Regions from separate parts of the Homo sapiens genome. Here all the other regions are linked to region 3. Evidence: promoter capture Hi-C in human tissues and cell types (Jung and others, 2019). All regions are on one chromosome and are shown on one strand. The core of a region is centred on a gene start or on the middle of the fragment in contact, and the rest is flanking DNA. Distances in the headings are between cores, read along the strand shown. Region 1 overlaps SNED1 (sushi, nidogen and EGF like domains 1). Region 2 overlaps PASK (PAS domain containing serine/threonine kinase). Region 3 holds the start of AGXT (alanine--glyoxylate aminotransferase).

Region 1 (4,335 bases), core at 130-2,629, 180 kb after region 3:
GAGAAAACGTTTGCAAAACTCATACCCAACAAAGGACTTGTGATCAGAATACACCAAGAATTCTCAAATCTCAACTGTGAGAAAACAAACAACCCAATTTTAAAAATGGACAAAAGACTTGAACGGATACTTGGCCACAAAAGATACATATATGGAGGTGAATAAACGGATGGAAAAATACTCTTGTCATTAATATCAGCCATTAGTGAAATGCAAATAAAAGCCACTACGAGGAATCACAACAAACTCATTAGAATGCCTAAAAAAAATAATACTGACCTGGTGTAGATACAGAGCAACTGGAACTCTCACACATTTTTAGTGGAAATGCAAAATGGTTCAGCCACTCTAAAAACAGTTTGGCAGGTTTTTTATAAGGTTAAGTATATGCTTATAATATGCCCCAGCAATCCCACTCCTTGTATTAACTCTAAAGAGATGAAAACTTATGTTTACACACAAATCCATATACAGATGTTTATATTATTTCTATTTATAATCACCAAACCCCAAAACTCAAATACCCTTCACTGGGTGAATGGATAGACAAATTGTGGAACCTCTGTATGGTGGAATACTACTCAGTCATAAAAAGGACCAATTATAGATACATACGACAACTTAGATGGATCTCAGGGGAATTATGCTGAGTGAAAGAAGCCAGTCTCAAAGATTATATCCTGTATGGTTCCACTAAATGGCATTCTTCGTAAAACAAAACTATAGTGATGAACAAATCAGTAGTTGCCAGGGACTGAGGGGTAACAGGAGCTCTGTGACTCTGAAGAGATAGACCAAAGAAGTCTTTCAGGGAGATGGAATGTTCTGTATCCTGACTGTGGTGGGGGTTAAACAAATCTATATATGTGTTAAAATTCATAGAGGTGTGGTGAACAAAAGTCAATTTTACTGTATACTGATTTACAAAGACACATTTTGAAAGCACGTGAAGAAACTGAACATCTTTTAAAAACCAAAAAGTAGCTGGCGTGGTGGCTCACCCCTGTAATCCCAGCACTTTGGGAGGCCAAGGCAGGCGGATCACGAGGTCAGGAGATCAAGACCATCCTGGCCAACAGAGTGAAACCCCATCTCTACTAAAAATACAAAAATTAGCTGGGTGTGGTAGCACGTGCTTATAATCCCAGCTACTCGGGAAGCTGAGGCAGGAGAATCACTTGAACCCCAGGGAGTTGGAGGTTGCAGTGAGCCGAGATCGCGCCACTGCACTGCACTCCAGCCTGGCAAGAGAGCGAGACTCTGTCAAAAAAAAAAAAAAAAAAAAAAAGTAAATTAGGTAAACTAATCAAGATAATGCTGCAGTGGCTATATTAATATCGAATAAATTAAACTTTAGAATGGGGAATACTGCTGGGAATTAGGAGGGACCTTTTATAACGATAGAGGGGTCAATTCATCCAGAAGACATAACTCTAGATATACTTGTACCTATTAACACCTATTCACATGAAGCAAAAGCTGACTGAACTGCAAGGAGAAATAGGTCCATAATTATTGGTGGAGATTTCGACACTCCCCTCTCAGTGGTTCATAGAACATGTACACAGGAAATCAGTAAAGCTAGAGGAGACTTGGGCTTGGCCTACTTGGCATTTATAGAGCACTCACGTTATTCTCAAGTGCTCTTGGCCATCATAGGCCATATTGTGAGCCATAAGTAAGGCCCAATACATTGAAAAGGATTGTGTTTTCTGACCATAGCAAAATTAAACTAGAGATCAGCAGAAAGATATCTGGAAAATCCCAAATACTTCACTGATAGGGATGCCTGACCAGAAACGTTTGGAGGCCCCTGGCCCCTGGGTGGTCTCTCTGGTCCTTCTTGTTCTGTCCATTCCTGGGTGGCTTCTCTGGTGCTTCTTGTTCTATCCAATCCTGGGTGGTCTCTCTGGTGTTTCTTGTTCTGTCCATTCCCAGGTGGTTTCTCTGGTGCTTCTTGTTCTGTCCAATCCCGGGTGGCTTCTCTGGTGCTTCTTGTTCTGTCCAATCCTGGGTGGTCTCTCCGGTGCTTCTTGTTCTGTCCAATCCTGGGTGGTCTCTCTGGTGCTTCTTGTTCTGTCCAATCCTGGGTGGTCTCTCTGGTGCTTCTTGTTCTGTCCAATCCTGGGTGGTCTCTCCGGTGCTTCTTGTTCTGTCCAATCCTGGGTGGTCTCTCCGGTGCTTCTTGTTCTGTCCAATCCTGGGTGGTTTCTCTGGTGCTTCTTGTTCTGTCGAGGAAGGAGCTGGGAGATGCTGAGCTCCATGGGGTGCAGCGCAGCTACAAATCCATTTCCAGAAATAAGCTTCTGGCTTAAATTCCACTTGGGAATGACAACAGAGGTGAAAACCCAAAGGTGCCATTGGAGCTGGGCGGGGAGACCACTCTCCCCACATTCCCTGCGTGGCCGCTGGTGACTGCCGTCTTTCTTGCAGGAGACCATCCAGTGCCAGACGCCTGCCTCTCGGCCCCTTGCCACAATGGGGGCACCTGTGTGGATGCGGACCAGGGCTACGTGTGCGAGTGCCCCGAAGGCTTCATGGGCCTGGACTGCAGGGAGAGTGCGTCTGGGCTGCAAGGGCTGCCGTTTTAGGGCTGGGGCAGGAGACCCAGGGAGGGCCTTCCTGTGGGTGCATGCAGGAAACGCCCCGAAAAGAAACGTGTGAGTGCGCGTCCACTGCAATTTGTATGGGAAGTTGGCCAGGAGCAGGGCAGGGTCTGGAGCGAGGGTGCCATCTTTCTGCGCCCCCACATGGGAGGCTCCTCCCTCTCTTCGTGGCAGGAGTCCCCGATGACTGTGAGTGCCGCAACGGAGGCAGATGCCTGGGCGCCAACACCACCCTCTGCCAGTGCCCCCTGGGATTCTTTGGGCTTCTCTGTGAATTTGGTAGGTGCCCAGGTCACCCTTCCTGCCCTGTCCCTGAGCATCCTCATAATCGGGAAATGAATGGTGGCTTCGGCCGGGGTCCGTAGGTCCAGACTGTCGACCATTGGTTCTACCCCCACCCAGGAGGGACTGGCCACAAGAGTGCCTGAACCTGTTGGGGCCACTGGGTCTTGGGAGGCCCCATCCTTGACAAGGACTCGAGGTCTGCTGGAAGACATGTGGAATATGGGATGGGGCTTCCTCCTTTCTCTCTAGAAATCACAGCCATGCCCTGCAACATGAACACACAGTGCCCAGATGGGGGCTACTGCATGGAGCACGGCGGGAGCTACCTCTGCGTCTGCCACACCGACCACAATGCCAGCCACTGTGAGTAGCTCGGGGACGAGCCTGCTGGGCCGGGGGCCCGGACAGAAGCCAGGGAGAAAGCGGTGGATGAGGCAGGCAGAGGCCAGAGTCCCTACTTCCCTTCTGACTCTCGGGAGAGCTGGCACCTGGGGAAGCCTCTCTCAATAGCCTTCCTGTAATATGGGGCTAGACATCTCCTCTTCCCCAGTGGAGTAAGCTCACAGGGGGAAAAGCACTTCTGCAAGTATACAAACACCATGTGGTATCTTACCTAAGCCCCAACACAAGCTATTAAAATATTTAATGCATACATAATTAGGCATGTGTAATGAAATGTATCACTACTATACGTTTGTTAGTGTATAGATGAGATGGTTAATCACTTGCATCACGTATAGTTATATAGAATAATGATGTGATGCTGGCAGTGATGACAGGAAGGCGTTTCTGTATCACAGCTCAGTCCTGCCTCGTAGAAGACGGAAGGGTGAATTCTGCTAAAATCGAGAAAAAGAGAAATTCCAGGGAGGGGCCCTAGAGCCCACTCTGAGGAATCAAGATGCCCACAGAGTGTATTTTCAGTGGCCTTGGTTCCAGACAGGATGTCAGGGTAACCCTGGCAGGCAAGGTGCCCGCCAGCCTCTTGCCGCCCGCACAGATGCGGCGTAAGCTCCAGGACCACCCTCTGTCCCCCGCCCCCAGCCCTGCCATCACCCTGCGACTCGGACCCCTGCTTCAACGGAGGCTCCTGCGATGCCCATGACGACTCCTACACCTGCGAGTGCCCGCGCGGGTTCCACGGCAAGCACTGCGAGAAAGGTATGGCGGGCAGGGGCGTCCGGGCCGGCGTCAGCACCCTGGAGAGCGCCCGCGGTCCGCCGTCCTGCTTCTCTGCTGTCTCTCTCCTTGTTTCGCGAATTGCTGACCTCGTCTAGAGCCTTGCCTGATGTGCTGCTCTGTTCTGTGTATTTAGAGGTGAGCACCTCACTGTTTGGATGGTTCTGATCTGCACCAGTGCCAGGCCTGCTGGTCATTACCTTGCTCTTCTGAAAATAGGCTTCATTGCCTGCTCAGCATTTTTCCAAATAGATTTTAGAATCAT
Region 2 (4,887 bases), core at 334-2,833, 240 kb after region 3:
TTCTCTAGTGCTTGATTTCTTGTATGGTCAGCCCCGCGGTATTTTATTGAAATAGATATTATTCCTGTCATCAAAATAAATAAACCTAACTAAAAAGAATCCTCTTCACTTATTTGAAGAGTGCCATTTTGGGGGACTCTTCAATATTTTTCTTGGCTTTTTATTATATGAAACTCCAAACAAATAAAAGCTGAGAAAATAAAATTATTAACTCCTATATCCATCGCCCAGTGCCTTTGCCCAATATGACCTTGCCTGCCTGCCCACTTACTTTCCAGCATATCACCCTGACCACTCAACACTCATCACAAAGAGGCACAAAGGAAGCCATTTTCCCACCCAAAATCAAGCCACCCTCAGGGTCCTGACAGAGGACACGAGGACGGGCCGCACCGCAGCCGCATACGTACGGATTCCCCATGAGAACTTCCGGTGCACAGTACTCGATGGTCCCACAAAAAGTATAAAATAATTTTCCCCTTTCCAAGTAGGCGGCCGAGCCAAAGTCTATCAGCTTGATTGTGAAGTCCTCGGCGATCACGATGTTCTCATCCTTGATGTCACGGTGGATGATGTCCTTCAAGCGCAGGTATCCCACTGCTGACACTAGCTGGAATCAGGAGGCCAGAGGGGGCTTTTTAAAAAAGCAATTCAACTAAAATATGCATTTAAAATAAACTGGAACAAAAAAAAACACAAAGAAAAAATAAACCTCCGACTCATAATGAACTGGGGACAGGAAAGATTTTTCAATGCTGAAGATATGATTGGAAGCAAACAGGAAACAAAGCCCTTCAGGAGGCGTGTTCACTGGGGATGGCCACGTTAGCCGGCAAGGTGGCAACATCAATGAGACTCGTGAGTTCTGTTTGCTGCTGAGAAAAGCTTCCCAGCAGACACTCGCCCCCACCAACGCACACCATGCCTATTTCAGGAGGAAAGACAGGCCACAAAGCCACAGCTCAAAGACACTCATGGTGGGCAAGTGAATGGGTGCAGGTTTGGTGTTAAGTGGGAAGTACCCAAGAGAAAGCACCAAGTCGATAACCTCAGCTCACAGGGAGGGAAAGTGACTTGCCCAGAGTTCAGGCAGCAATTTGGGGCAGAGCTGGGAGCACAGCCTCAGTGGCTTCTCAGAGAGCAGCATGACGTATCAGCCATCCTTTCCCCAAATGTGTGGCTACTCAATGATGCAGACTTAAAGCAGTTACACTGGAAACGGGCTTCGTTCCCACGGAGGTGCAGCTGCAGTGCTCCACTGCCTGCCCACTCTGCCTCTCCAATAACAGAGGCCAGCAACATCGGCCTTTCAGTTTAGCTCAACTAGGATGAATTAAACGTCTGACTGTCATAATTTGGACACCCATTATACCAATCAACTTAGTGACTTCATGGATGTATCATGTTGATCTTTTGAGACAAATTTATATTTACAAATGAGTATCTTTCAAATCAGGAGCAATAATCACAGGTTAGCTAAGCCCGATTAACTTACATTTAATAAATATACGCATATTTATACACATATATACAAACATATACATACCTGCATATTTATATATACATACCTGCATATTTATATATACATACCTGCATATTTATACATACATTTAGATACATACATGTGCACATATATACACACCTGCATACACACGTGTGCATACCTATACACATAACATATACTTGTACATAGGTACACACATAAATACACATATACAAGCATGCATGCATACATACTTACATATATATGTAGATATATACAAATCAGTCAGGATCCAATCAGGAGACAGAAATCACACATGAACTTGAACATGGAAAGTTTCATTAAGATTTATTAACTAGTACTGAGAGATTAACCACAAAGGGCTAAAGAGCGACTTGAAGAAAGCTGCTCTTCCTGCAGATGCTTCTGTGCCCTGGACTGGCCATGCTGCCCTGGAGCGGCCTGAACCAAGCCAGGGCTGTTCCCAGGCCCAGCTCCCCGACCCCGCTGCTGAGCAGGTCCTGATGAATCTGGAGCTGACAGGCAATGCCCTGAGAACCAGCATGATTCCTACATACATTGATGTGCGATCATATACTTTATAAAATTGTGCATCTGTATTTACATAGAATAACATTTATGTCTATATATTTACAAAAGGGGTAGAGATTCTTTTGGCAAAAATTTTAGAGTATAAACACCATAATTATGTGTCTCACTAGCCCCAGAATTAACAGCTGTCAGGCAGCAGCTTTTAACAAGCGACCCTCAACATAACCTCATACAGATACTCTGTTTGCTGTAAAAAGTTTCAGAAACAAGTGTTGGCCACAAACTAAAGGGAGGACGTCACCTTCCAACACAGGAAGAGGGAGAGAGGTGACCCTTTTTTGCAGAACCATAATATCTGAAACTTACAAGTAGGAGCCTGAGAAACTAAACTTCGGAAACCCAACAACCCGAGAGTGTGTAGCTTTAAGGAAGAAATGTTGATTCACGGAAGCTGTCATTAGAAATCGAGTTGTCCCCAGCAAACAATCCAAGAGCAAATGTGAGTTGTCTACACAGCCCTTTGCTGGTATTTCTCCAGTTCTTCTGGGGGAGCTGGGAGCAGTACAGGATGGAACCGCCACCCTCTCCTTAAAACCCAACACGAGTTACCGTTTCTTCCCCCTGTCCCTCTGCTAGGGTGCCTTCCTATTTGGATCATCACTCTCCCATTCCAATAAAATAATGGCCGAAGTTCAATATGTAATTAGACACGAAACAGATCAAGACAAATACTTACTGAAAAGTGAGAATGTCAGGATCTCAGTTTTGCTGGTTAATTACCTCAACAGCCACCATTTAGTGGGCACTTACAACCTGCAGGCCGCTGTGCCGCACACATGCCTTTGAGACGCTCTCTGGCTGCATCCTAACCCTTACTGGTTAATTTTTATGATTGTTGTGGATATTTTATGTATGTAAATAAACCTTAACCATTAAACATACTTTCTCAGTCATTCCAGGACTGTATCTGGCCTCATCCTTCCTTCCCAACCTCACTTTCTCTACTTCAATCATAGAATTTTCTTCTCAAAATATATATCCTACTCCATGAAATCCCCACACAGAAGGCTAGATCCAGCTCAGAGAGAGAACCGAGTATGGATCACTGATCTTTGCAGCCACCGGACCCAGGCACCCAGGCCTGCGTTCACACTAACACGGCTCTGGCCTGCTCTCACTTGTCGGAAGATGTAGCTCGCCAGGGGCTCATCCAGCCTGGGGTGGCGGTCGATGAAAGCGAAGAGGTCTAGGCCGGAGCCGTGCTTCTCCATCACAAGCTGGAAGAACCCTTGGTTTTCAAATATATCCAATACCTAGGAAGAGACAAAGCCAAGTCCAACTCTACCAAAACATCTTCAAGTCAACAAATTGAAGACATTTGACATGAGCCAAGTTAGGGTATCTCTGAAGAGGAAACCATCACCTTGATGATATTGGCGTGCTCCACCCTGGATAGAATTGCGATCTCTAAAGTAACTTTCCCAAGTTTGGGATCCTCAATCCAACAATCCTCCAAGACCTTCTCCTTCTTAATAAACTTCACCACCACCTGTGAGGAAGACAGAGCGTAGTGGAAATAGCTGGAGCCAGTCCTCAAGCATCCCATTGCACCAGGGCCACCCAGTCCTCAAGCATCCCATTACACCAGGGCCACCCGGTCCTCAAGCATCCCATTACACCAGGGCCACCTGGTCCCCAAGCATCCCATTACACCAGGGCCACCCGGTCCCCAAGCATCCCATTACACCAGGGACACCCAGTCCTCAAGCATCCCATTACACCAGGGACACCCGGTCCTCAAGCATCCCATTACACCAGGGCCACCCAGTCCTCAAGCATCCCATTACACCGGGGCCACCCGGTCCCCAAGCATCCCGTTACACCAGGGGCCACCGGTCCTCAAGCATCCCATTACGCCAGGGCCACCCGGTCCCCAAGCATCCCGTTACACCAGGGGCCACCCAGTCCTCAAGCATCCCATTACGCCGGGGCCACCCGGTCCCCAAGCATCCCGTTACGCCAGGGGCCACTCGGTCCTCAAGCATCCCGTTACACCAGGGGCCACCATCAGTCCTCAAGCATCCCATTACGCCGGGGCCACCTGGTCCTCAAGCATCCCATTACACCAGGGGCCACCATCGGTCCTCAAGCATCCCATTACGCCAGGGCCACCCAGTCCTCAAGCATCCCATTACACCAGAGACACCCAGTCCTCCAGCATCCCATTACACCAGGGACACCCAATCCTCAAGCATCCCATTACACCAGGGCCACCCAGTCCTCAAGCATCCCATTCCACCAGGGCCACCCAGTCCTCAAGCATCCCATTACACCAGGGCCACCATTGGTCCATGCGGCAGACACATCCCCTGCATTTACCTCCCCTAAGTCCCACGGACATGAAAGAAGAAACAAAGTGATAAACGCCTGCAGCACAAGGAAGCACAGAAGGGGGTCAGCAGCTGACCAGAAATGCAGCGTCATTACTGCCCATTCTGTAAGGTGGACAGATGGGTGAGATGGAGAATCCAGGTGGAGCTGAGGGAGCCATAACCTGGGCTGGAGAGAGGGCCCCAGAGGCCTCAGGGCATGTGCCCCGGAGAACATCCACGTCACCCCGACTTCTCAACCAAGGACTGGAAAGCCCTGGCCAAGAGAATAAACGAAGAAGCCAGAAAACTAGAAAATACAAAGAAAAGCTATCACTCTTAGACATGTTTTCAACATTGACTCTGAGATTAATCAGACTTTAGCAAGACTGACAGACATAAGGTAAATATAAGAAAAACAGTGCTACCACAGTCAATGATAGTCAAAGTGTAACAGAAAAAGATACCATTCACAAAAGAAAG
Region 3 (4,578 bases), core at 1,878-4,377:
ATGTTATTTTGGGAGGTACACCTTGTTATAATGACACTCATGCAGCTAACTTTGACTCATTTGAGGCCTTCGCCTCCTACAATCAAAACTCTGACTCTGGCCAGGTGCGCTGGCTCACACCTGTAATCCTAACACTTTGGGAGGTAGAGGTGGGTGGATCACCTGAGGTCAGGAGTTCGAGACCAGTCTGACCAACATGGTGAAACCCTGTCTCTACTAAAAATACAAAAATTAGCAGGGCGTGGTGGCAGGTGCCTGTAATCCCAGCTACTCAGGAGGCTGAGGCAGGAGAATCGCTTGAACCCAGGAGCAGAGGTTGCAGTGAGCCAAGGTCACACCACTTCACTCCAGCCTGGGCAACTGAGTGAGACTCCATCTCAAAAAAAAAAAAAAAAAAAATCTGACTCTATCTCATCACTGCCAATTTATAAGCCGTTAAACTGGACCAGTATAGTGGGGCTCCCAGTATACAGCACCCCTGCACTCCTAATACCTTCATGTATGTTACTATAATGATGCAACCAGTGCAGGAAATAACCACCGTGCCACCTGGTTTACATCCTATGCCATGCACTGGCACCCGCCTGCTTTTAAACCTCCTCCATCAGTACATAAACATAGTCTTTCCCCCATATGAGTCCTCTTAAAACTGTCAAAAGGCCCATTTCCTTTTTTCCCAACATTTTAATTAAAATAATCATCCTGCCCCTCCTGGGCTCTTATGGCTTAGCAGCCCCACTAAAAACTATTTAAACCCTTTTCAAGCTTTGGCCCTATCCCACCTTGATCATTCTCTTCACTATGGTGATTGTAGCCTGGGAACAATAGCTCCCACCCAAATCACTGTCTTAAACATCACTTCTAATTCAGAATTCCCTTCTAGAAGGAAAAGGGCCCTGGGACTTACTGTGGCCGGAGTTGTGGGAACTATCACAACTCTTACCCCTTGGGGAGGTTTTACTTACCAGGAAATCACAAGTAAGAGAACCTACCGCCTCCCTTGAAATAGCAAAAGCTGGCACCCATCTATCAGCTCTACAAGTCATTAGACTCACAAGCAGGATTTTGGTGTCTGGTAACAGGTGAGTTCTGGATTACCTCCTAGCTGAACAAGGAGGGGTCTGTGCTGTCATCAACAGGACCCGTTGCACCTACATTTATGTGTCTGGAGAAGTGGAAACCGATGCCCAAGAAATCATCAAACAAGCCAAATGGCTACACACACTTTCCCAAAGCAACCAAGACTGGGCCAAAACTTTTACTGATTGGTTTTCAAAAAATCACTTGGCTTCCCCCATTCCTTAGACCTTTATCTTCTGTCATTTTTCTTTTAATATTTGGTCCCTGCCTTTTTAATGCTCTGATTGCTTTTCTATGTTCTACATGAGAACAATTCCACCTGCAGAAGGCTATGCATTCCCAACACTGGCCTGCAACTGCAGCTCGATTTACATGGGGCTTCTTGATGGAAATACCGGCCTGCAACTGCAGCTCCCATTTACGTGGGGCTTCTTGATGGAATCCCATCACGTGCCTCCGTGCACAAGTTTTCATGACCCTTTATTCCCTTCATGACCGAGAGCAAGAAAGGGAAAAACGTGACCTACCCCCCTGAACTCCCTTTCAGCAGCAAGTAGTCAGGCGCACTGGACACCCCTCTTCACTGTGCCGTTTCCCCTTTCTTGAGACCCCAACAGGAAGCAGGTGGACATGAGCATGGCAGAAAAGGAAGGGTCAAAGATTTCACCAAGATATTTGTCAGAGGGAAAATGAGGACAGCAAAGATCACCTGGAGACCATCAAGCAGGCCCCAGGTGGGGTGGGTGGAGGGGAGCCTCTTTATTTGAGAAATGTAGAATGAATTAGACTTCCCTATTATCTAAAGTTGGCACCTGGTTCCAGGCCTCTTTTCAACCTAAAACTTATACATAACTAGAATTTCTATACATCTCTGGAATGCAGCATGCTGAAACTCACTGTGCAACCCCTGCCTTGTGTGTGTCTGTATACCATGCAGGTTTGCTTGCTAAATTGAGCCTGTAAACCAAAAAGTACCTCAAACAGGTCTCAATTAATTTAGAAAGTTTTTGTTGCCAAGGCTAAGGATGCACCCGTGGTACAGCCTCAGGAGGGAGGACATCCTTGCCAAGCTCAAGGGTGCACCCCTGACCACAAGGGCCCAAGGTGGTCGGGGCACAGCTTGCTTTTATACATTTTAGGGAGATATGAGGCATCAATCAATACATGGGAGATTTACATTGGTTCCATCTGGAAGGGCGGGACAACTTGAATTGGGGGGCTTCCAGGTCATAGGTAGATTTAAACATATTTTGATTGGCAACTGACTGAAGAATTATTATCAGCAGAAAGGAGTGTCTGGGTTATGAAATAGGGGTTGCAGGGAGCAGATGATGCCTTCAGGTAGCGGGATTTAGAGAGAAAATAGATGGTAAATGCTTCCTATCAGACTTAAGGTCTATGTCGATGTTAATGCTGGGGGTTATGATGTGGCATGGCCTGAACGTCTTCCGGGTTAAAGTTTAGAGCACCCTGGCGGACAGGGAACCCCATTCAGATGGTTGCTGGGGGGCCTTCGAATTTTATTTTTGGTTTACAAGCCTTCCCATCAGCTGCGCCAGGGTCAGCAAACCACAGTCCATGGGCCCAATCTGGCCTGCCACCTGCTTTTTGTAAATAAAGTTTTATAGGAACACGCCCACACCTCTGGCAGCTGCTTTGCAAGCACGCAGCAGGGTTGAGTTGTTGCAACATAGACCACAGGGCCTGCCAAGCCTCAATTATCTGTGCTCCGACCCTTTAAGAAACACTTCTCTCACCCCTGAGCTAAGCAGAATAAGAGGGGCTGGACGTGCAGGACTCAGAGTGGGAGCGAGGAGGGCTGGGGTGAGGACAGCTTTGTCACACTCTGTTTTTCTGTCACTCAGCCCTGGGGGCTCCCTCTGCCTGAGGGCTTCGTCCCCTGCTGCCTGGCCGTGACCCGCAGCACAAGCACAGATAAGCCTCAGGGAACAAAAGGCAGGGCTGCCACGGAAGCCCATCCACCAATCCTCACCTCTCACCTCTGTGTCCGCCCTGCTGGGAAATATTCCAGGCTTTGGCCAAGGCCAGTGCAGCCCCAGGTTCCCGAGCGGCAGGTTGGGTGCGGACCATGGCCTCTCACAAGCTGCTGGTGACCCCCCCCAAGGCCCTGCTCAAGCCCCTCTCCATCCCCAACCAGCTCCTGCTGGGGCCTGGTCCTTCCAACCTGCCTCCTCGCATCATGGCAGCCGGGGGGCTGCAGATGATCGGGTCCATGAGCAAGGATATGTACCAGGTAGGAGTGGGGGTCACTCGGGGGGCCTGGGTCTCACCCATGTTCCCACCCACAGATCGTGGACGAGGGAAGGGGGTCACTGCCTCCTCACTTGGGGAGGCGGGGAGCCTGGGTCTCACCCTATACCACCCGCATGCAGATCATGGACGAGATCAAGGAAGGCATCCAGTACGTGTTCCAGACCAGGAACCCACTCACACTGGTCATCTCTGGCTCGGGACACTGTGCCCTGGAGGCCGCCCTGGTCAATGTGCTGGAGCCTGGGGACTCCTTCCTGGTTGGGGCCAATGGCATTTGGGGGCAGCGAGCCGTGGACATCGGGGAGCGCATAGGTAAGGGAGAGGCCCAGGTGGGGATGGCCCTGGATCCATCCTTCAAGGCCTCCCTGGCCTCCCTCTGTTTGAAGCTGGCAGCCCCCGTTCCTGGGTGAGCGCTTACCCACCTTGTGGCCCTGTGCGCACGAACCTCCTGCCAGCCCACTGCCTCCTCCAGGCGGTGTCGGGCACTCATGAGGCCTGACTCTGATAGGGCTGGGAGCAGCACAGGTGCCCCGATCCCCCCAGTCTCCTTGAGCTGTTTCTGGAGCATGTGCAGGACGGAACTACAGGGAAGCCTCTGGTCCCAGCACACACTCCTGAGAGCCCCGGCCGCTGTCCAGGGCCCCAGGCACCAGCTCTGCTTTGTGACAGGGTGGGGTTTCAGAAGCTGAAGCCTCCCCTCAAATCTCAGCAGCCTTCCTTCTGGAATCTTGATGTGATACACAAAATATGGAGGTATGGGCAGAGTATTCGCCTCCGGAGTACACTTTTCTGGGAGAGACACAGGAGCAGGAGTGTGCCCTGGGTTTAATGATTGATTGTGGCATTGAGGGACATCAGCTTGGTGAGCTCCACAATGGCCATGCTGGTTAATACGCGACCGCAACAGCCAAGAGGGTCCCAACCCCAAGTCCACAAACTTTTCAAGGGGACCCAGGGTCGGCAGAGGCCAGGACCCCAAGTGGACATCAGGGCACGCAGGCTCAGATGCCTGTGGTATATGGCTTCCCTTTTCCCCATTCTGTCCCCTTGGCCGCAGGTTCTTCCCCTCCCACAACCTGGCCCTGAACAGCACACAGGATAGGGCAGAGACAGGGAGGGGGTGAGGGCCTGATTCCTGGAGTCCCCAGCTCCAACAGAGGTCAAGGCTGCTGCCTCACTCACCCCTCATCCTTCAGTCTGTCATCCATCACACCTGTGGTGTGC

What was found. Contacts are between HindIII fragments. The study calls those that stand out against the background at their distance.
Region 1: a contact is called between a fragment that was not itself captured here and the fragment with the promoter of AGXT in region 3, in 1 of the 25 tissues and cell types used here (IMR-90 fibroblasts).
Region 2: a contact is called between a fragment that was not itself captured here and the fragment with the promoter of AGXT in region 3, in 2 of the 25 tissues and cell types used here (IMR-90 fibroblasts and small bowel).

The regions. Positions count from the first base shown.
Region 1 is chr2:241,045,882-241,050,216 of GRCh38, forward strand. SNED1 (sushi, nidogen and EGF like domains 1) reads left to right here. Exons shown (of 32, transcript NM_001080437.3): 9 at 2,434-2,559; 10 at 2,781-2,885; 11 at 3,141-3,254; 12 at 3,936-4,052. All of the region lies in intron 1 of SNED1-AS1 (SNED1 antisense RNA 1), which reads right to left. It also overlaps a transcript of MTERF4 not described here. Among named protein-coding and RNA genes, the nearest start is that of SNED1-AS1, 16 kb to the right of the region's middle. The HindIII fragment of the contact is 7,636 bases long and covers 1-4,335 here.
Region 2 is chr2:241,111,830-241,116,716 of GRCh38, forward strand. It overlaps PASK (PAS domain containing serine/threonine kinase), which reads right to left. Exons shown (of 18, transcript NM_015148.4): 13 at 3,459-3,584; 14 at 3,214-3,348; 15 at 411-610. Among named protein-coding and RNA genes, the nearest start is that of MTERF4, 12 kb to the left of the region's middle. The HindIII fragment of the contact is 3,445 bases long and covers 1-3,306 here.
Region 3 is chr2:240,865,697-240,870,274 of GRCh38, forward strand. It overlaps AGXT (alanine--glyoxylate aminotransferase), which reads left to right and starts at 3,128. Exons shown (of 11, transcript NM_000030.3): 1 at 3,128-3,334; 2 at 3,474-3,666. The coding sequence starts at 3,170. RefSeq lists an enhancer at 2,647-3,147. The HindIII fragment of the contact is 24,692 bases long and covers 1-4,578 here.